Linked DNA regions of Homo sapiens: region 2 is linked to region 1. Evidence: promoter capture Hi-C in human tissues and cell types (Jung and others, 2019). All regions are on one chromosome and are shown on one strand. Each heading gives the region's core, a stretch centred on a gene start or on the middle of the fragment in contact. The rest is flanking DNA. Distances are from core to core; before and after follow the strand shown. Region 1 holds the start of PCP4 (Purkinje cell protein 4). Region 2 overlaps PCP4 (Purkinje cell protein 4).

Evidence for each region. Contacts are between HindIII fragments. The study calls those that stand out against the background at their distance.
Region 2: a fragment that was not itself captured here is called in contact with the fragment with the promoter of PCP4 in region 1 in 1 of the 25 tissues and cell types used here (thymus).

What each region holds. Positions count from the first base shown.
Region 1 is chr21:39,863,613-39,870,049 of GRCh38, forward strand. PCP4 (Purkinje cell protein 4) reads left to right here and starts at 3,826. Exons shown (of 3, transcript NM_006198.3): 1 at 3,826-3,898. The coding sequence starts at 3,890. RefSeq lists a silencer at 5,724-5,877. The HindIII fragment of the contact is 8,471 bases long and covers 1-6,437 here.
Region 2 is chr21:39,906,438-39,912,874 of GRCh38, forward strand. The region is part of intron 2 of PCP4 (Purkinje cell protein 4); the gene reads left to right. Among named protein-coding and RNA genes, the nearest start is that of PCP4, 42 kb to the left of the region's middle. The HindIII fragment of the contact is 3,855 bases long and covers 1-3,178 here.

The DNA of each region.
Region 1 (6,437 bases), core at 2,576-5,075:
AGACAGGAGCCCCTGGGTTCACCCATCGGGCCAGGGATGCTGAGGCTCCCCATGTAGACACCCAGAGTGTATAGTTGGCATCGGGCTGGGAAGCAGTGAAGGTAGAAGAAGGGAGCCTCGCCATGAAGGCCAGGCTGTGCAGTCTCCGTTCCAAGGAGGATGACCACCTTCTTCATCTGTGCTGGATTAAAACAGCGCTATGTCTGCAAAGGCAAGGAAATGAAGCAGAAGGTAGGTTCTTTTTCAAAGTCCCCCACACCTCCAGAAACTATACACAAATGATGCATTTGGTATGCAAGTCTGATGAAAAGCCCTAGGTCATTAATATATAGTGTCCCTATAAATAATCTCAAAGACAGCTTGGGCCAACTCTGCCCCTTCAGGCAGGATCATGCTTCTAAGAAGATGAAAATAATCTGTCCTTATTATATATATACATTTCCATAAATTATAGAACCACATGTCTGTATTTTAATTCAGCCAGGCTGAAGTTTTCCCCAAGATCTAATATACGAAGCTGTAGATCTAATTCTTCTGAAGTTCCTTCAAAATTTATTTCCCAGCTCAATATATTTCATGTAGATATTTTTGCTTAGGTTGGCAGATGCAAGGCTTGAATACTTGTATATTACCAGTGGAGAAAATCAGACACTGAGCAATGGAACAACTTCGCCAAGGTCATACAGAAAATGATTTCTCACATCTAGGATCCAAGTTCTAAGCTTCTGGTTCAGAACCCCATTGGTCACGTAAGAGTGTTTGGCTAACCTGAGAAAAGTCGAATGATGGGGCACGTTGAAGCTATTGACATACATGTGTAAAAGTAAACCACAGCCAAGCGGGCCTGAAAAGGAGGTGGAAAGGGAGAGAGTATCACTGTGTCAAGCAGCACGTCTCAAACCTGACTGCTCATCGGAACCACAGGAAAAGGTTGAAAGATTGCTCATTGACTGTCCTTGTCCCTGGATATGCTATGAAGAGGTCCAGGTAGTCTTTGGCGTTCTTGATCTGGTAACTGGTCTTATTGGGGTAGTACTGTCCCACGAGGATGAATGGGAGGAGATGTCGTCCCAGGGCCCATCTGTGGGAGAGGATGCAATGTGTGTTCAGGCTGGGGTGCCTCTTGACAGCTAGCATGCTTGCATTTGAGACCTGGTGGGTTGCACACTCAGACCTGTCTTGTGTCACTGGCGAGCACCGATTTCCCAGGGCAGCTTGACCCTCCCTTTGTAGCAATACTGAACGTTCATTTTGTGTTCTCTATAACAGGACAACTCCACGACTCATTAACAGGAGATAGTTATTTTGCTAAAGATATCCTGGGGAAATAAGTAGGATGAAATTGCATACCACAAGGCCTTGAGAAAAATCCCCCTTAAGGTAATTCTATCCTTTCCCTGAAATTTCTCTGTGTGCTTGTGATGGCATCTGTGTTCGTTTCCTGTGGCTACCAGAATCAAGTACCAAGACTGCGTGGCTTAAGCAACCAAAATGTATCCCCTGGCAGTTCTGGAGGCTGAAAGTGTGAGGTCAAGGGGCAGCACGGTTGGTTCCTCTGAGACCTCTCTCCTTTGCTTGTAGATGCCATCTTCTCCCTGTATCCTCACAGCGTTGTCCCTCTGCGAGTGCCTGTGCCCTAATCTATTCTTCTTATAAGGACACCAGTCTATTGGATTCGGGCCCACCCTAGTGACCTTGTTTTAACTTAATCACCTCTTTAAAGACCTTTTCTCCAAATAAGGTCACATTTTGAGATATTGAGGGTTAGGACTTGAATGTATGAATTCTGGAGGAAGGCAATCAGCTCAGACCATAACCCATTCTCCCCAATAGTCTTCATAGTCCCTTGGTTGGTCCCAAAGAATTGCTGAGTCTACCCAGCAAAGCCTCAGCCCAGCCCTGCACCTCCAATCCTGCCCCTCTACTTGGAGCCTCAGCACTAATTGCTGTGCTGCCAACCTCAGGCTGCTGCAGCCCTTGATGTGTCTTTGTGTTGTTAGAAAATGCAGGTCTGCTCCAGAGCCAGCCAGCAGAGCACAGGCTGATTCTCCACATGCCCTCTGCACAGCCTGGAGGACCACAGCAGGGACCCCATGGAGGCTCACACTGGGAGACCCCTTCTACACCTCCAGGCTGTGGGGGTCCAGCCCCCAACAGGGCAGGAGGCCCCTGGGGAGGGTGTGGTTTTTGCCCCTGAGAAATCACAGGTGTCTCCTAGTATAGATAAGCAAGCACCCTTCTTCCAATCTGTCAATCTGTCCTACATCGCAGATGACACTATGGCTCCAGTTCCTCACCCTGCCCTCCTCCTCCTTCTCTCCCACTACTAACCACCTGGGCAACCCTAAAGGCATCCCACGTGGGCCTTCCCAAGCGTGGCATTGGGGGCAAGGAGGAGGAGGGGAGTGAGAGAAGGAGGATGCTGTCTTCATTAGTTTGCAAATGATTTGTGTGGTCAGGATATGTAAATAAATAATTTATATACATATAAAAGAAACGAATATAACACACATATTTTATATAATATATATAATGTTCATTTCTGTCGCTCTGTGAAATATAGGTTATTTTATAATAACTCATGTATGAGACTCTGTCTTGCTGGCTGGTGTTCCCACGCTGTGGGCGAGGGTGCTGACCAGCTGGTGCTCCTGGCCAAGGCCTCTGAGGGCAGCCTGTGCTCGCCGGTGCCCATTTGGGGGCGCATGGCCTTCTGCTTGCTGTCCAAGGTGGACCTGAGGATGTGGTCGCATCGGTGACCTGGGCATGTAAGGAGGGCAGTCCAGGTCAGAGGGCGTGGGGCTGCTGAGCTGAGGAGAGAGGGTTGATGGGCTGGAGTCTGGTGGCCTGCTCTGCACAGGGAGATGAGGGGTGCTGGGGACGGGTGGCAAGACGCTTCAATCTTCTCGCCAGACCCTCTCAGTCCTGTACCGGGACTGGCAGAGTAACAGATGTGAATGTGCCTTCAGTCTGCACAACGCTTTTTTGGGACAGTTGAGGGCCCACTCTGATGCCTTGAAGACTCTTCAGAGCCTCACGATGTTGGGACTGAACAAAGGATGGAACCTCTTCCCGGAAAAGCTGAACAGGACTAAGGCAAGGAGACCTTCAACCAGGCCAGGGCCAATGCCCAGGCTCCTTCCTGGCCCCACTGTGGTTGTGAGGAGGGCACATCAGCAAGGCTGCTGGAGCCGCTCGCCTCCTTTGTTGAGGTCGTGGGGACCCATTCCCATGTCCCAGTCCATCTACTCTTATCCTTCCAGCTCAGGGTACAAGCAGGGCGACAGATATGGGATAGGGGAGAGACAGCAGAGATATTAAAGTCCTTGGGCTGAGTTTTGTGTTATAAAGGGCAAGGGAAACACAGCTCCTGGGAAAACCTGAAAGTGCGTGAGCGGGCACGCAGGTATTTTCAGAGCTCCTCTTCCCTTAGAAAAACAATCCTTCCCATTGACATTTGAAAGGTATTTTACATGCATGTAAATCTTGCACTCATTGAAAAACGCACAATGGCATCCCTGTGATGATCTTTGAAACTTTAGCTTTTACTTTTTACTTTTTTTTTTTTTTTAAAAGAGACAGGGTCTCGTTCTGCTGCCCAGGCTGGAGTGTATTACTTTTTAAAGAAATCGAGCATTTCCTTCCATCCTGGCGGAATTTGGAGCAGCGACCTAACGTGCCGTTCTCTTTTGCACCACTAGGTGGCCCCTGGTGCTCTCAGATGTCGGCCAGGCTTGCAGACAGGTGAATGCATCTCATTGGCTCCAGGGAGGCATGATGCCACCGGGCAGCTCTTTTTAAGAGAAAAGCCAGAACCGGTGGAGCAGCGACCCCTGAGCAGTGTTCTCTGTGCTGAGCGGCGGGACTGAGCTGTTGAGTTAGAGCCAACATGAGTGAGGTGAGTGATGCTTCGACCTGGAGAGGGAAACTTAGGAGTGAGAAGGGACCTCGGCTGAAGGATTAGTCTCAGGAAATGTGAGGGACTTAGCAGTGCTGAGGAACAAATTAATCCTGTAATTATTTGCTTGGAGAACTGACAGGATTAATCTCTTGGTTTGAATGGTAAGTGCAGAAATTGGTTAAGTTTGCAACTTCTACAATTAGCCTGAGGAGGAGAAAGGTTTGCTTTCTGATTGAATGGTGACTTTGAAAAGTGCTTTGGGTTTTAGAGCTCAGAAGAGAAAGCCAAATGTTTTATTCTCTTACGAAGATGCGTGTCTTTGCATGATTCCCGCGGTGATACCTTTCAGAATGTGAGTGGGCAGGTGGTCATCTGGTGAATGCAAGCCATGGAAGGGAAGGGGACAAGGTGGGGAAAGGGCTGGCCGTTGGGTGGCATTTCATGGCTCAGTTGTACAAACTACCTCTGCAGTTAATCAGAGCACCAGGGAAAGAAATGCAAAAAGTAGTAGGAACTGGGAAACATCCGTGTGTATAGATCTGTGGCTCTAAGACCGGAGGCGGCCCCGGCAGAAGAAGAGCTACAATTTTGCAAATCCAAAGTCACTTCTCTAAACTTGTTTATACAGAATGTGTTTTACTGGGGCCAACTGACAGCACGTTTGTTTTTCTAAAATCATCTTCTCCTTTTTTCTCATCTATGAAGCAGATTAGCGGTGGTACAACACCATTCTCTAATTCAACTCAATAACCGAGCCAAATGCATCTTCATTTCCTCTTGGTTGGCACTTAAATAATTACTTTTAAAGATCTTTTATCTTCTCTGTCTCTTTTTGACAGATGGATGATTCTTTTCTTGGAAGTCTAGGATAAAATTAACAACTTCAGAAATAAAATGCCTCCTCCCTGCTTTTATCTCTCTGATGGGTGATTTTTGATGTAAACATGACAAGAAGAAGAGCAAAGCACTATAAAACTTAGAAATGGGGTTTAGGACAAAGCCAGGGGTTTGAGGCAGGGAGAGACCAACTGTGGGGTGGAAGATGGGAATTCTCCCACCACCACAATCAATGGTACCTGTAACAGCAGCTAACACTTGCCTAATGGTCTGTGTGCCGACAGTGTCAGGCTGTCTCTGCATCTGTCACCTTCTTTGAACCTCTCAACAACTCCGTGCAGTGGGCACCATTATTATTCCCAATTGACAGATGAGGACACTGAGGCACAGAGATGGGAACTAAGTGGTTTGAGGTCACCAGCTAAAGAACAGTAGAGCCAAGACTTGGGCTGCAATGCTGGGTGGTTGACTGCCGGGTGAATCTTGATGTCTAAATGTGTATGGAATTTGCTGAACAGAGGGGATGGCAGAGGTTGGAGGAGGAGAGGGGAGGTGAAGAGAAAGAAAGAAAGGAGCTGGGGCTCTGAAATAGAGATGGAATGATGAGGATGAGACCTCCATTTCCCACATGCTAGGAGGAGGGGCTTTCTGCTGGACTCTACAGATATTTCAGAAGCTTCTGTGTCCACATCAGCTCACCTTGCTTGCAACAAGAAGGGATGGCTGCGTGGAGTGGTTTTTCTTTATATACAACTTATCCAATAAGAGTTTCCTATAGAAGAAGGACTTAGAAAGCAGCACAGCACTGAGGGGTGGCCTCTCGGGTCAAGTCAGCTACCCTGGGATTCTGGCTCAGTCATGCCGTCACTTGCTGAGGCTTCTGGCCAGCAAGGTGCTCATGAGCTCTCCAGGATGCTCAGCTCTGCTGGGCTCACTCAACTGTGCGGGTCTCCAGGGAGAAAGCGCGTGTTCCAGAGCTCACCTGTGATTAGGGTCACAGCCTGGTTCCTGCTGAACGGGTAATCAGGGCAGCTCTGTAGTCACCGCCCCGCCATGGCGCTTATCAGACACATTTGCAGGTTCTTGCAGGAGCTCTTGCCTTAGTTCCTTTAATGTGGATAAAAGCACACAAGGGGCACATCCCACTTTTCTGCCTCCCCTTGCTGCTCACAAAACCCCTCCCAGCTCTCTGCTCCTCATCCTCCCTCCTGCCCTCTTCTCCCCCTCACATCACATGAGGCCTCCTCCCTCTGACCATCAGCATGGCCACCGCTCCTGGCTGATCTCCAAGTTCCTGGGCATGTGCTCCTTGGAGAGCAGGAATTTGTCCTTTGACTAAACCTCAAATCTGCTTAAAATCTTTAGTAAAGTGCAACAGAAGCTCCTTTCTGGGTAGAGAACTCGATTCCCCCTTCATGGCACCCCTCAAGGGGTTTCTTTGGTTGGATGAATTAAATGTGGCTCCTAGTTTTAATAACTCTCAGGCAGAAATGGCTTTCAGATCATCATTTACTTGCATGTGTGACTAATTACCAAAGAAAGCCAGAGCAATGGATTTTGCCAGACTTTCCTTGACCTTAGGATTGATTGGGGTCTGGTGGGCCAATAGTGCCTGCTGCAGTGCCAGGGCTGAGTGCCTGCTGCAGAGGCTCCGGAGCTCATTAGCTGCTTACCCAGGCCAGTGGGCAAGCCTGCTGGC
Region 2 (6,437 bases), core at 1-2,500, 40 kb after region 1:
AGCCATGATAGTTTTCAAAATTAAAACATCAAAGCAACATGTTCATTTATAGCCTCTTCATATTTCACCTGCCCTCTTCCTCACCCTTTCTCTTTCTCCCTCCTTCCTTCCTTCCGCTCCTCCTTCTTCCCCTTCCTTCCCCCTTTCCTTCCCTTCCTTCCCTCCCTCCGTCTTTTCTTCCTACCTTTCATCCTTTTCTTCCTTCTTTCTTTTTGAGATTGAGCAGTGGACAGCTTTAGATCAGCTGAAATAGAATTTCATTCCACATCATACAGAGAAAGCTTATACACCTTGGTGAAAAAGTAAAGTTATACATTATTCTCAATGAATTACTCTTAAAGATCTTCAAGATCTTGGCCATGAAGCAGCTTGAACCAGGAAAATGTGCATCCCTCTAGCCTTTGGAAACCTGCCCCAAGCAGGAGATATTCCAGGTTTCAAATGTTTCAGGTTCTGCTTGTCAATTACTTTTATGGAAATAGTATTTCTCACGCGCTTGAAAACACTTTTGCTCTTTTAAGTAGGTGAAACACTCATAATCTTATTTATAGAATTAATGTGCACAGCAGGCAGTTTTTCAGAAGCAAAACCCCACCTAGATCTCAGGCTGGGCCAAATGATAAGATGGTTTAAATTTGTAGGTTTCATATTAGGTACATCTGGGATTACAAAAGCACGGAAAAATGCTAATATTTCTCCTTGGAAAATAATGCTGTCAGTGGGCAGAGTGGGCTGAATTGTCCTCAAAGAGTAGATCTCCCTCTCAAGCTAGATGTGTTCTCCCCTCCACATGAGGCAGGGAAGAGTCAGCCTTGCAGCCCTGGGCGTGTCTCCAGGATACCCTTAGAGCAACCACAGAACATGCTTCGGACCCCGGGCAGAAGTCCCCAGGGTCACCCAAGAAAGCTCTCTAGCAGCCAATCTAGAACATAGCTCGGGGGAGATGCAGACCCAGAAAAGGAGAAACCAGAATCCCAGGGAGGCCTATCTGGAGGAGCGGACAGACAGGGGCTTTGGCCTGTTGAAAGGTACAGCTAAGCTGTGGCAACTTTGCAGAGACTAGTAGGTTGCTAGAATTAAGAAATAAAGTCCCTGCGTGGTGGCTCCCAGCACTTTGGGAGGCCGAGGTGGGTGGATCACCTGAAGTCAGGAGTTTGAGGCCAGCCTGGCCAACATGGTGAAACTCCATCTCTACCAAAAAATACAAAAATTATCTGGGCGTGGTGGCGGGCACCTGTAATCCCAGTTACTTGGGAGGCTGAGGCATGACAATCACTTGAACCCAGGAGGCGGAGATTGAGGTGAGCAGACATCGTGCCACTGCACTCCAGCCTGGGCAACAGAGTGAGACTCTGTCTCAAAAAAAAAAAAGTGCCTTCTAATCACTTCTACCCGTTGGACTTTCCCAGCCAAAACTACAGAGCAATGATTAGGTGGAGCAGGAGAAGAGAGGAGAGTGAATCTGAGAAGCAAGAAATGCAGGGTTCCATTGTACCAAGTGCCTTTTTCCAGTTGTTGCCAATGTACTTCCCTCCCTGGCCTTTGGGCCAGGTCACCCTGTTCCCCTGTTTGTCCCCACTAATTAAAAAATGTAGCTTATTATACGATAAGTGATTGCTGCTTCCCAAAGACAAAGTGGGAATGATTTTTGTATACAAATTCTGGATTGGCTTCAGAAAAAAAAAGCAAGAAAAGTGGTTTATTGAAACCATGCTTTCATGTTAACTGTGTAGTGTAATTGGCTGGCTTAGTATTTCTAAAGGAAAGAAAACTGTCAGATCTCTTTTTTAAGGATGACATATTTGACATTCCTGGAGCGATGAGGCTGTCCCTGTGAAGGTTAATGTGTGTTCCCCACAGTCGGTGTAAGCCCCTCATCCCTCCTCAGGTGTCATTAAGGGGACAAGGAGGTGGCCAAAGAGGAGACACAAGAGGAAGCTGGCTGGAAGGTGGGTGAGGGTGGATACAGAGCTGTTCACACCTCCACCCAGTCTGAACGGAAGGCCCCGCTAGATGGCAGGCCAACTGGGAAATGGGGAAGGGACTGGGCAGGCACGGTTCTCCCCTGTAAGCTGGGGTTTGTCAGACCAGGAGGGAGGAGGAGAGTAGCTTCCAGCCACACACCCACAGACTGTGGGCTTCCAGAAAGCTGCTTTCTCAAGGGCTCAGTGGCGCCCCAGGCTCTGCTCCCACTGAGCAGAGTCTCTGGATGACTCCCCAGCTGCCTCGGCCCAAAGGAAAGGTGGGGAGGAGGGTGGGAGTGCCCGCGGCTCCAGGTGCTCTCTGGGAGGCTGGAGTAGCTGCTACTGTGCCTGGGGCTGTAGGTGTTGGCCTGGGTTGGGAGGCAGGACTGAGGTCTCAGAGGAGAGGCTAAGCTTTGCCTCCACCCCTGTGGAGAGGCGCCAAGGAGCCAATCTGCTTTCATTCAGGTCCCTCTTGGATATCTTGGCTTCATAACCTTGAATTAAACTTCAAATTTGTGACTGCAGGATCAGCTGCTTAAAAATATGAGAAATGACCATCTCCTTATTTAAATTGCACGTATTTCCTTTTAAGTTCTTCTCTCTCCTCCCCCGACACAACCAGGGGAATTGCTCTTTTCTGCACCATGGTGAAGAAATGAAATCAGGGCCCCTTTAATGTCAAGTACATTCTGAACGTTCAAGAAGGAAGAAGAATAACAAGTACTGTGAGATCATTGAATTTAAAATGCAGCCATTTATAGACTTCACTATTTCCAGCATTAATTCGAAGGAGTAGATATTACAGTTATTATAATGACAATTTCTCATGGCTATTATGGCATATTGATCTGTTCTTTTACTATCGCTTTTTCCTCGGGCAGATCCTGTATCTGCTCAGGCTGAGCACACCGTTTTCTTACAGACTGTTGTTCCGTGTCGCTGCTCTGTTTTTCTGACATGTTATTTCCTTCAGTCTCATCATGAGCAAGAAGCCAAATTATTTGCATATCACTAGGTTTAATTTTAAAATTGTATTTCCTTTGAAAGTTACCCCCTTCTCCTATTCACTAAGGAGCAGATGCTTCTTATTCACCTGCTGGGATCTCCTTGCATTCTGGTCATGGTTTTTCTGTTCCAGTTGCCATTTCCTTTTTTCCTCTTGGGATGTGGAATGGTGTAGAACTGTGATCAGTGGAAATACGTATTGATTGGATAGACCAAGATATGGCTGGGTGTGCCGGGAGGAGGAACTGGGAAGTCAGCGACGTGGCCTCCATCACAACGTTTATGAAAACTCTCCCTTCAGGAACTTATGATTATGTGAAGGGGATGCTTGCTGCTGTTTTTGTGCTTGGCAAGCAGCTTCTTCAAAATTTCTTCCTTCCTTTCTTTTCTTTTCTTTTTTTTTTTTGACATGGAGTTTCGCTTTTGTTGCCCAGGCTGGAGTGCAATGGCGTGACCTTGGCTCACCGCAACCTCTGCCTCCCGGGTTCAAGCGATTCTCCTGCCTCAGCCACCCGAGTAGCTGGGATTACAGGCGCCCGCCACCACGTCTGGCTAATTTTTGTATTTTTAGTAGAGATGGGGTTTCTCCATGTTGTTCAGGCTGGTCTCAAACTCCCGATCTCAGGCGATCTGCCCGCCTCGGCCTCCCAAGCCTTCTTCAATATTTCTAAGGTGTGTTCTTCTCTCTCTACTATTCTACCATCCCAGACCCTGAAAACAATTGGAAATCGAATCATGCTCTGGCGTTCATTTAGACAGCAAAGTCTCCTCGGATGTCAGAGAGACACTTTAGTGGCCGGGCACTGATGTGAGTGAAGCAAGTCTCACTTCAGACTCCAGTTGCTACCAGTTCACCAAATCCAAGTGCAACAGACCTGGCCTGTGTAGGAGGGCAGACCTCGCTTCCCACAGCAGTCATCGCAAACGGGGCTAATCATCGTGGGACCATGATCCTCCTCTCACCCAACCTTTCTTACACTTCAAGTTTCGCTCTTTCCACACAAACATAAAGCTTTTGGCAGTTTGGATGGATGTGCACTCACCAAAATCCAATTTCCCACCAGTCCATTAAAAAAAAAAGTGTTTTTATAGTGAGCTTTGAAAATGGGCCAGGCCATGAGAAATGGTCCATGCAGATGCTGGGTTGTAGATTATAATGCATTTGCTGGTTGGGGAAAGTGCTTTGAAGGTTCCTCCCAGGTAACTCTGAGCTCAGTAATTGTTTCATAGAACTTTCAGAATAAGATAGAGCAATGTTTAGCATCCGATTTTGGCTGGGGTTTTCCATGGATTAGCTGATGCCAGGCTGCCTCCATGCCAGCAGGAGCTGGGCATTTTTGCTGACTGTTTTTAGGGTCTTCCTCGCCCTTTAGCCATTTCCCCGGTTGCAGGGCCCCTGAGCTGCTTGGCCTGAAGGCCTGCCAATAAACCTCATCCGACTCTTGGTTTGCTCATGAAGGGTGGGGCTTGGGTGAATTCCCATTTGTTCTGTCCCTGCCATTCTATGCTTTACTCATTTGTTCCTGGTTCACCTGCAGTGAATCATTTTATCTCTTTGGGTTGCAGCATTGTACGACGACATTGTCTTTGGGCGCTTGTCGAATTCTGACTCTTTATGATTCTGTGGCTGTCTCTTTCCTGGGACAGTGTAGGACATTTGACTCCTTTTGATTTTATTTTCTGTAAGCATCAAGGGGATATCGCACATGAGTCCACAGGAGAAATACGATGTATTTTCTTGGTGGAGGCAGTGGAGGGGAAAGTAAGGGCAATGGATGGGATCTGAATGGGATTGTCACCGGCTGTGAACACAGGATAACAAGTAGTTATTTTTGTTGAAATAACAACTATTTCAACAAAATGGGTGAAAATGGGAAAATTTAACATTTCCTCTAGAAAAACTGCATTTCCAACTATCTGACAGTAAAACAGGGAAACAGGGTTTATTTTCCTGGATCTTTCTGTAGCATATGTCCAGTTTAGAAAGGAGGCTGGCACCCCAGTGACTGGCCTCGAGGTGAGCACAGGTGTAGACAACAGTGGTCCACTCGACAGAAACACAAAAGAAGTGGGTGCCTCCCTCTGGTGGCAATTGGCATACATGAAATTAAAGTGTGACTGCGATCTTTCAGGCAGAAGGTAGCCAACATTCTTTAGAAACTTTATAACCTTTTCACCTGTGGGCCTCGTCAACGTGACCTGGTACCAACCAAGCACTAGGGGAAACCTCAGCCAGAGGTTGCCGGGATAGGTGCTCCCCAGCCCCATGGCAATGGGATACTGAGTTATAGCTGTTTCTTGAAAAAGCCTCACTTGTCTTTTCTATAAATCCAGCCTATTGTCACCTTAAATGATGGCTGTGTGTGGAAGAGTTGAACCGTAGTTTTGAAATTATAATCCAGACTTGTTTGTGGAAGAAGGAGATAGGGTTTTAGAAGACAAGATGAGCTACCTGCAGATGAGATATTCATTCTTATTCTATTCACACATCTGACAGTTGAACAAAACTATAAAACGTTGCCAATTACCTATCTGGGCTAGAAACGGCCTATTAGGTCACCCCGGCCATTCACAGCTGGTGAAATATGACTCCCTGTTGTGTATTTCCTCAGTTCAGCTTAAAATGACTTTAGCAAAAGGTCAGATGCTACTGCTCCTGGGAGATGTTTGCAATCTCTAATAGACTGATGTTAGACATTTTTTTTTCTAACATTCTATCTAAATTTGTTTCTTGACATCAGTTTCTTGACATCAGCCTCTGTTAATGCTCCCTTGAGCCATGGCAGCTCCAAATGGGTATTTTATCCCTGCTTAAATTTTTGGTTTAGACAGAAATGCTTCTACTACCTCTGCTGATAATTAGAATGTGTCAAGGGATGATATTTCATTGTTGGTCTTTTGAAAGGTTTTTTTTTTTTTTTAAAGTATTTCCAAACTGATTAATTTTTGATCCTGTTGCCCTGATCCCAGAAAATTTCTTTCTGTCTTTGAAATTTCTTGAAAAGAATAAAAGTAATCCACTTTATTTTTGGTTTGTAAAAGCTTTTTGGATGGGGATGCTCCGATGGCACCCACAAAGGGCAGGAGCCTTGCTTTCCTGCCAAGGTGCCACATAAAACAGGCCCTGGTTAAATGGTCACATTTAACCAGGCCCCATCTGAATTCTGCCTAGGTGTTCATCTACCTGAACCAATATAAAAAAAGTCTGGAGCTTCAGAACTTTTCACAACCCTGGGAAGAACTTCCCAATGCCATTTTCCGGGGTGATTCGGTGTCAGAACGTTATTATTTTAATTTAATCTATTTTTATTTTTATTTTTTAGAGACAAGGTCTTGCTCTGTCTCCCAGGCTGGAGTGCAGTAGTGAGATCTTAGCTCACTCTAACCTTGAACTCCCAGCTCAAGCAATCCTCCTGTTTCAGCCTCCAGAGTAGCTGGGACTACAGGTGCGGGCCACTATAACCAGAT